2 separate regions of the Homo sapiens genome follow, and region 1 is linked to region 2. Evidence: promoter capture Hi-C in 16 types of primary human blood cells and fetal thymus (Javierre and others, 2016). All regions are on one chromosome and are shown on one strand. Each heading gives the region's core, a stretch centred on a gene start or on the middle of the fragment in contact. The rest is flanking DNA. Distances are from core to core; before and after follow the strand shown.

Region 1 (4,584 bases), core at 1,527-4,026, 220 kb before region 2:
AGTCCCTATTGTTGCTTACTTCATCTTTCATTTTGTACCTATCTTAACTGACTTAAACACTTAAACACATTTTACCCTTGGTTTTGTAGCCGGCTTAATTGACTTAAACACCTTTCAGCAATAAGATAGGATATAGAAATAATTCACATTGACAGGATCCCAGTTCTAGGAGTGACTCCCTTCGTGTTGCTGTGAGGTGATCCTAACGCCAAACCTCTGTCTCTTCTAGAATTACAATGAGATCTAAGCTTTGACTCCTAAGTCACTTCCCTGGGGTAGCCTGGCCCTACTCCTCTCCCTCCTTCCCAATTCTTCTTAAACAGGGAGACCAGGAGTGTGGACATGGGGAGGAGGGCCCCACGCAGACCTCTAGAAGGGAGAGGAACATGACACACACCCCTCACTCCAGTCTCCTGTTCCCCCAGGATCTCTACCACCAGTCCTATGAATGCGTTTGTGTCCTCTTCGCCTCAGTCCCAGACTTCAAGGAGTTCTACTCTGAATCCAACATCAATCATGAGGGCCTAGAGTGTCTGAGGCTGCTCAATGAGATAATTGCTGATTTTGATGAGGTGAAAATTCCAAGAGTCTCCCAGACCCTATGTCCTAGATTCTAGAATTTTCCACCAGTACCTCCTTCCACTTTGCTTTTCTGGCCATGAAGTCAATCCTCCCCTCCACAGTACTCCCTCACCTCCTCTGATCCCCCAGATCTACCCACTCCAGCAACACTGCCCACCACCAACCCTCTCCTTCCTGACACTATCTCCACTCCCACAGCCTGATCCTTTAACTCCAAAGGCTTGGGGCTGGGCTTCTGGGAGAGGTGATGGAGAGAGTAAGAGAGACTGGGGACAGGACTCTTCTCTATATACAGCTGCTCTCCAAGCCCAAGTTCAGTGGGGTGGAGAAGATCAAGACCATCGGCAGCACCTACATGGCAGCCACAGGCTTAAATGCCACCTCTGGACAGGATGCACAACAGGTACGGCAACCCTTCCTTACCTACCATCCTCCTCTGGGCTCTCATTGATGGGCTTATTAGTGGGACTTATTCCTGTGCCCTCACTGGCCCACCCTGGTGGGCGGGCCCATTGCCAGGATGCTGAACGGAGCTGCAGCCACCTTGGCACTATGGTGGAATTTGCCGTGGCCCTGGGGTCTAAGCTGGACGTCATCAACAAGCATTCATTCAACAACTTCCGCCTGCGAGTGGGTGAGAGACTTCCCCTGCTGCAGCAGTCTGGTACCTCCTCACCTTCCTGAGCTTGCCCCACTCCAAGTCCTTTGTTAGCTGCTCCCAGTTCATCCTGAAGCCCCTTTCCTGACTCACTCCCTGGGATGGGGTGTGAAGGTGCTGGGCAAGGAGGTACGAGGCTCTCCCACTCTTTTTCTTAAGCTACATTCCTCCAGCCCTTAGAGACCCCTCCTCTCCTCTAGGGCCCCCCAGGCTCTTCTCCCTTCCTTCCAGTTCCTTGTGGCTTCCTCTTCCCCTCTTCCTTCTCCAAGTCTGTCATTACCACATCCCTCATTAGGGTTGAACCATGGACCCGTAGTAGCTGGAGTTATTGGGGCCCAGAAGCCGCAATATGACATTTGGGGCAACACAGTGAACGTGGCCAGCCGCATGGAGAGTACAGGAGTCCTTGGCAAAATCCAAGTGAGGGAACCACATTGGAGGCATAGGGGGAGGGGGACTAAGAATAGGGCCACCTCCATATTCCCTCGCCCCCCTCCAATTGTAGGTGACTGAGGAGACAGCATGGGCCCTACAGTCCCTGGGCTACACCTGCTACAGCCGGGGTGTCATCAAGGTGAAAGGCAAAGGGCAGCTCTGCACCTACTTCCTGAACACAGACTTGACACGAACTGGACCTCCTTCAGCTACCCTAGGCTGAGATTGCACTCGCCTTCTAAGAACCTCAATAAAGAGACTCTGGGGTGTCTGGAGCCCATTGATGTCTGAAGCTGCTGATATAGCTGGGGATCACCTTCTCATTGCCCTTCAGTGGGAATTCTTCTTCTTCCCAGGCCAATTTTAGTGCGAGTGTGTGTGTGAATGTGTGTGCACATGCCTGCACACATGCATGCATGTGAGACTAAGCATTTTGAAAGGGAGTGATTTTTTTCACAAGCTCAGGAAGAGAACTCCCTCAGCCTCTCTGCCAACTTGATTATAGTATTTTGTACACCTTGGAAGCATAAAGAATTTAGCCACATGACTCAAAACAAAAATTTGCCCTTTCCTGCCCCCTACTCAAAAATACCGGAAGAATCTCCAGGGAAATGTCATTTGAACTTTATTAATTCGACAAACACTAAATAAGTACCTATTATGTGCTCACCATACAGAATGGGCGAGAGGACTGGGAAATACTCCGTTAGGTCCCTCCCAGTTTCAGCTGCTGTTCTCAAATTGGTGCACCATACCTTCCAGTAAGGATCTGTAGACAGCTTGGGGATCTCCTCTTCTTAGGTCCATCCAACATCCCTTTGCTTCCTTCTGCATCCTTCTGCACAGATGCTGGTATATGGGTCTTGAGATATTGATGACTCATTCTCACTGGCTCATACTTTGGGGTCCATGGGAGTATGTCAAACCTTGACATACTAGATTTGTTGCGGATGTTGCATGTGGATATTTGGTTTCCCTCTCTTACTTGCTCTTTTGTTTTTTTATGAGAAAGATCCAAAAAGTACACTGCTGCCACTGTTGTTGCCATCTTCCTAAAACCTTGTCAGAACAGAGTTGGACCAAGGTTCTCTAAAACAACAGTCATCTCTAGGAAATAATGACTCATCCCTCTCACTTTTGGGAATCTTTGTTTCCTGGGGCCCTCAGCCCCACCCTGTGCCAGGGTGTGTTGTGGAGGTTAGCAGATGCTGATATGCAAAATTCTAAGGGATAAGATCTAATGACTTAGTCCTCAAGTCTGGCCTCTTTGTGAAATGGAGGGAAGGAAGGCATCCCCTAGAACATCTCCTATGGAGAGGACAAAGATTATTGGCAGGAAGTTGGAGTCATTCTAACAAGGAGACTTATCACAGGCTTCAAGGAAGATATTTCACAGCAGTGCTGTTTTCTCAGAAGGTCCCGGGTCACAGAACCTGGAGTGATAAGCCCACATGGGTGGTCTTCCTAGACAAGCTGCTTTAGGAGTCTGTAGACTGCGTTTTGCTAAGTATTATCTGCAGACTATGTACTCGGAATCATCTGGGATGGGGGAAGTCTATGTTTCTTTGTGTCCCTTCCAAAATTGTAAATCATGGGGAACTAAAGGACGTGACTCTCAACTACCGAGAGGGGCCCCACCAGGGCGCCCACGAGCACCCCGATACCCACAGCACATGTACCCCACTCACAAGGTTGACCAAATTTCAGACTTCAGTTTTAATGGTTAAAGCTGCCTGTGGGAGCCAGGCTGGAGCACGCTCTCACTCGGCCCTCACTTTGCTCCACCTCTCCCTCTTCTTCCACTCCACTCCCGCCTCCCACGCTCCCACGCCCTCCACGCCCTCCACGCCCCTGCTCCTCCTCCAGGTACTGAACTGGCTCAGAGCTAGCATTCTGCCAGGAGGAAAGTGCGCCTCCTTCCACCAGGCCTAGTTCAGTTCGTTTAACTTGAGAGGGCTGGAGGCAGTGAGGCTCTCGGAAGGGCCGGGCTCCAGAGCGGCGGGGCCGCTCCTAGCGGTCTGGCCCAGGCTGCCCCCGCGGCGCGTGCTGGACGCCTCGGAGCCCGTGCCCTCCAGCAGCTTGGCGACGAAGCCCACGCCCGCCGAGCGCAGCAGGCCGCCGCCGGCGCACGCGTACAGCACGGGGTTCACGCTGCTGCTCAGGAAGGCGAGTGCGATGAGCACGTTGCGGGCCAGGCTCAGCCGCTTCCCCACGAGCCCTAACCCGGCGGCCTGGCCGGCCAGCGCGCGGCCCGCCTCAGCCAGGTTCACCACGTGGTAGGGCAGCCAGAAGGCGGCGAAGGTCAGGATGATGAGCACCACCAGGCGGCCGGTGCGGCGGCTGCGGCGGAAGCGCCGGGCCTGTAGCCGACGCCCTATGTCCGAGTAGCTGGCCACCACAGCCAGGAAGGGCAGCAGGAAGCCCGTGACAGCCTCGAAGATTAGATGGAAGGCCCGGTGCCCTTCGCTGGGGTACCGCGGGAAGCACAGGCTCATGTTCGTTTTCCAGGGCACTACTGTGCGGTACGCGAGGACGGGTGTGGCCAGCAGAAAGGACAACACCCAGATGCCTGCCAGCACCCGCCGGGCCATCGCCTTGGTGCGTAGCTTCTGGGACACAAAGGGGCGGGCCACCGCCAGTGAGCGGTCTAGACTCATGGCCGTGATAAGCAGGACGCTGGCGTACATGCTGACTCCGCAGACATAGTGACACAGGCGGCAACCAGCCAGTCCAAAACTCCAGGTGCCTTGGGCCAGGAAGTGAAGGAAAAAGGGAGCAGTGAGCAATACGGCCAGGTCGGCCAGGGCCAGGTTCAGCACCATCAGGGCAGTGACAGAGCGCTTCTGCATCCTTTTCAGGATACTCCACACCACAAAGCTGTTGCCGGGAAGCCCCACAGCCAGCGCCAC
Region 2 (4,291 bases), core at 156-2,655:
GAGAGCAAAGACCATGAAGGGGATGTTACTCTCCTCCTCTATCAAGGCCTCGCCCATCAGAAACTGCCCCCACACCCAGGACCACGTGACCCCGTGCTTCCCCTGGCTCTTCTTCCTAGAGGCCACATGCCTAGAGAGCTTTGGTGTTGGTGGGAGGGTGGAACAGCAGCTTGCTGGCAGCTCAGACTCAGAGGGTGTTAGCCTGGGGAAGGAAGAAAGCTCAGAGCATGGATACGGGAGCTTGAGTCTGTCTGGGGTAGAAGCTGGGGTGGTTTCCGCTAAAGCAGGATAGATGATCAGTGTGGCCCCAGGGGCAGGGGAGGAGGGCTACTGGGACCTGGGTCTGTTCCTGCCTCAGAGGGAAGTTCTCCGTGAGCATCAGTTTTCAAGCACACAGTCTTGAGGACAGCCTCTCTCTCCCTGGAGCCTGGCTCACGTTATCTCTTGTGAAGCCCCCACACCCTCTTGCAGCCCTCTAAGTGGGACGTTTCCTTCAGAGACCACCCACAAGGGCTGCCCAAGTGGAACGGGCTGTGCGACAGATGTGGGTCACTTCCGACTCTGGGACAAAAGCTGAGAAGAGAGGCCTCAGAGAATAAATAGGAGACTAAGAGGACAGGCAGACAAACAGGACGAGCCTGGGGGCTCCAGGCCTGGACGGAGGAAGAAGCCAGCTATGTAAGAAACGAAGGCAACTTGGCGCCCTCCTCCCACCTTGCTTGCCTCCCTCCCCTGGGCCCAGGTCCCTCGGGCTGCTCTGGACTTCCCGCCAGGTTCCAGTCCTTCCAGTCCGGGAGAGGCCGGGAATGGATATTTAACCTTCCACCTTCTTTAGGGGGCTCTGAGCTTAGTCTCCCGGGGCTCACGTACCCTTGTCCCCAGGGCCCTGCTGCCTCTCGAAGTACCCTGGGGCGCTGGCTGAGAGCCCGTTAGAGGTCCGAGGGAGGTATCTGGGAAGGAAAGGAGGATATGCGGAGACCTGGCTCAGCAGAGAGGAGCGAGGAGAGAGAGGAAGTTCTGAGAGTGGCAGATAGAGATCGCGCGGTCAGAGGCGAGCGAGGCAGAGAAGGGGAGGTGCAGGCGGAAACGAGGAGCACCGGCCGGCTGCCCTCCCAAGAGACGCGCGGCGCGGGAGGCTGGACCCACAGCAGTCGCCCCTGCCCGCCTCCGCCTAGGATGGGAAACCTGGCGGAGGCTGAGAGCAGGAGAGCGCCACTGGCAGCCCCGAGGGGGCGAGCGCAGCGGAAGGTGCGGGTGGGCCCCGGGCCGGGGGTCACTCACCGCAGGCCAGGGCGGTACAATGCGGCCATGGCACCTGGGCAGGGGCTGCGGGGTGGCCAGGAACCGAGCGGAGCCGGGGAGGTATGGAAGGCGGGGAAGGAGGGAGCGCGGCGAAGCGAGCCACAGCAGAGGCTGGCGGGAGGCGCTTAAAAAGGAGGGGGGCAGGCGCGGGGGCGGAACCTGGTAGGGCTGGCACTAGCTTTCCTCCGCCCCGCTGGCAGGCCAGCTCCCTCGGCCCCGGGGCTCCAGGCTCCAGGTCAGCCCAGCCGCCGCCCCAACCCCTGCCTCCAAACCGCCAAACCCATCTCTCCCATTGGAGGACTGGGTCCACTCTTCGGCCCCCGACTTCGAGGCCCCGCCCCCCATCCGCCACCGCCCTCCCAGCCGCACATGATGTAACTTTGAGGACTCTTGCTCCCGGGAGAGACACTAGGTGGCAAACAAGCTAGGAACGAGGGGCGAGGCCAGGGGCGGGAGACTACAGGGGCCAGACGTCTAGAAGTTAGGGGGTTGGGCATTGCCTTTCCAGTTCCTCCTCCTGGGGACGCGACACCCTGAGTCCTGGGCCTTTCTGTAGTCCAAGTGCCCAATGCTAAGGTCCACTTAGTCCCCAACTCCTAAATCCCCGTTTCTCCTCCTGATCAAGGCTCCTTTCTGCCTTGCCATGAAATGGTGGAGTCTCTCTACCCCTGGGTCTCTTCCTTGGTCCTCTGATCTGGTCATTCTCCTCCCCCGGCACATCCCCTCTTCCCCTGACGGAGTCTTACTCTGTCACCCAGGCTGGAGTGCGTGCAGTGGCGCGATCTCGGCTCACTGCACACTCCGCCTCCCGGGTTCAAGCAATTCTCCTGTCTCAACCTGCAGAGTAGCTGGAATTACAGGCGCCTGCCACCACACTCGGCTGATTTTTTGTATTTTTTGTAAAGACGGGGTTTCTCCATGCTGGCCAAGCTGGTCTCCAACTCCTGACCTCGTGATCCGCCTGCCTTGGCCTCCCAAAGTGCTGGAATTTACAGGCGTGAGCCACCACGCCCGGCCTGGTCATTCTTTCTCTCCACAATCCAATGAGGAAACTCATCTGCCCACCCAACTACCATCATAAAGTCCTCAGGTGATTTCTCAAGCTATACCTCCATTGGGACATCTCTCTCCAACCTGAGACCACTGGATATCACCCACAATGCTATATAGCACCTCAAACTCAGCATATCTATGATGGGTGTCTGCTCAGCATCCACTCGCCTTTTCTGGTAATAGCACCCTGATTTTCTTTTGGGGAACCATCTCCTCAGTCTGTATTGTCATGTGGGTCTGATGTCACCCCTCTTGGGGGTAGGCTTGCAGCTTAGCCAACTTTTGTGTTCCTCACTCTGGCCACAGCAATCAAGGATGTTCAAGGATGGGCATGAGATCCCTCTCTGGGACTTTTTCTAAAACTTTGGAAGTTAGCTCTCTTTCTGCTGAGTTGCTGAGCTGGTAGAATATAAGCCTGGAGCTGCTGAGTGTTAGCTTGGCACTGCAAAGCAGGAACCTGGCTGAGACAGAAGCCAGCCTAGAGGAAGCAGAGCAGGGAGATGGCGAGCAATGGATTCCTGATTTCAGTTACAGGAATTGATGCATTTCTTCTCTTGCTCAAGCTAATTTTAATTGGAGTTCTGCCACTTGCAACAGAAACAGTCTTGATTCTCAGATTTCTTGGAGTTCTATGCTGGAACATAGTGGGATAAGGAGAGCTGGTCTCCAGCCACGGGCTTGCTACTGGTCCCCGTCTCTTCCCCCTCAGGCTCTAGCCTACACTCAACCTCAGGTATATGTATTTGGATCTCTTTCCCCCCAGTTCATAGATCCAAACTCTGTCCACACTTACCCAGCTGCAAACACATACCTCTTGGCCAACCTTTGGGCCTAAAGGTGTGCACACTGGTGGCAGCATGGTTGACCTGAAGGTCATCATCTTCTCCATAATCCTGCACCTGCTCTCATGGTTTCCTACCTCAGCAAATGGCACCATCATCTGGCCAGTTGCCCCAAAGGGAATCAGTCTAGACTATTCTTATCCTGCATAGCTAATCAGATGCCAGGACCTTTGGAATTGTACTTCTCAATTAGCCCTCAAGTCTGCAACTATCCCCATGGCCAGGGCCTTAGTTCAGGGCTTATCTCTCACCTGGCTTCAGGTGATAGCTTCTAAGGCACTTCTTGGACTCCTGCCTCTCCAAACACCAACCCCTCTCCCTACCAAGCCACTCCCCACACTGTGCATGCAAATCCACTTGGAAAGTTAAGAGAGAAGAATAATGTTTATGCTATGGACAGTAGGTGCCAGGCTCTGTGTCAGCAACTCTGCATGCATAATCTCATTCTGTTTCACAACTATATTTTACATATGTGGACACGGGCTTAAAGAGTCATTTGCTCGGTCACCCTAAGGGAAGAATCAAGGAAAAAGGGAGGCAGGACCCCAGAAGTATGCCAACATATAACACCCTAAATCAAAGGTCAAATGCCGCACTTGACCTCCAAGATGCCTGCTTGGGCCTCTTCCAAGTGTACTTTCCTTTCTTTCATTCCTGCTCTAAAGCTTTTTAATAAACTTCCATTCCTGTTCTGAAAAAAAATTATTCATGAATATTTTATACTTTTATCCTATTATGAATGAAATGTTCTAATTGTTTACCACAAGTACATACAAATAAAATTGCTTTGTGTATATTGAAAAAAAAAAGAGTCATTTGCTCAAAGTCACACAAATGGTTAGCAGGAGAAATGGAATCTGAATCCATATCTTTCTGACTCTAATTACCAAGTCCCCCTCTCCCTATAAATCCTATACTGTCCCCTTGATTTACCATTAAAAATTAGATCATATCACTCTTAAGCTTAAAATCTCTTCCAGGCTCTTTCCATCACATGATATCTTATGTCCTTCATAATCTGACTCCTATTTATCTAATGTTGTCACCCCCACATCCCCACTTGCCTCCTTTTCTCCTACGTACTGAACTCTGAA

What was found. Contacts are between HindIII fragments. The CHiCAGO score rates a contact against its expected background, and 5 or more counts as called.
Region 1: a fragment that was not itself captured here is called in contact with the fragment with the promoter of PCK2 in region 2 in 2 of 17 cell types (total B cells and neutrophils); the score reaches 5.1 in total B cells.

The regions. Positions count from the first base shown.
Region 1 is chr14:24,315,730-24,320,313 of GRCh38, reverse strand. It overlaps LTB4R (leukotriene B4 receptor), which reads right to left. Exons shown (of 2, transcript NM_001143919.3): 2 at 2,278-4,584. The coding sequence ends at 3,604. It overlaps ADCY4 (adenylate cyclase 4), which reads left to right. Exons shown (of 25, transcript NM_001198568.2): 21 at 426-572; 22 at 878-985; 23 at 1,102-1,216; 24 at 1,536-1,660; 25 at 1,746-1,955. The coding sequence ends at 1,898. Among named protein-coding and RNA genes, the nearest start is that of LTB4R, 6.5 kb to the right of the region's middle. RefSeq lists an enhancer at 3,734-4,234. The HindIII fragment of the contact is 5,052 bases long and covers 251-4,584 here.
Region 2 is chr14:24,091,425-24,095,715 of GRCh38, reverse strand. It overlaps PCK2 (phosphoenolpyruvate carboxykinase 2, mitochondrial), which reads right to left and starts at 1,405. Exons shown (of 10, transcript NM_004563.4): 1 at 1,282-1,405. The coding sequence starts at 1,310. All of the region lies in intron 1 of NRL (neural retina leucine zipper), which reads left to right. RefSeq lists enhancers at 1,010-1,079, 733-1,382 and a silencer at 1,390-1,639. The HindIII fragment of the contact is 4,962 bases long and covers 1-3,864 here.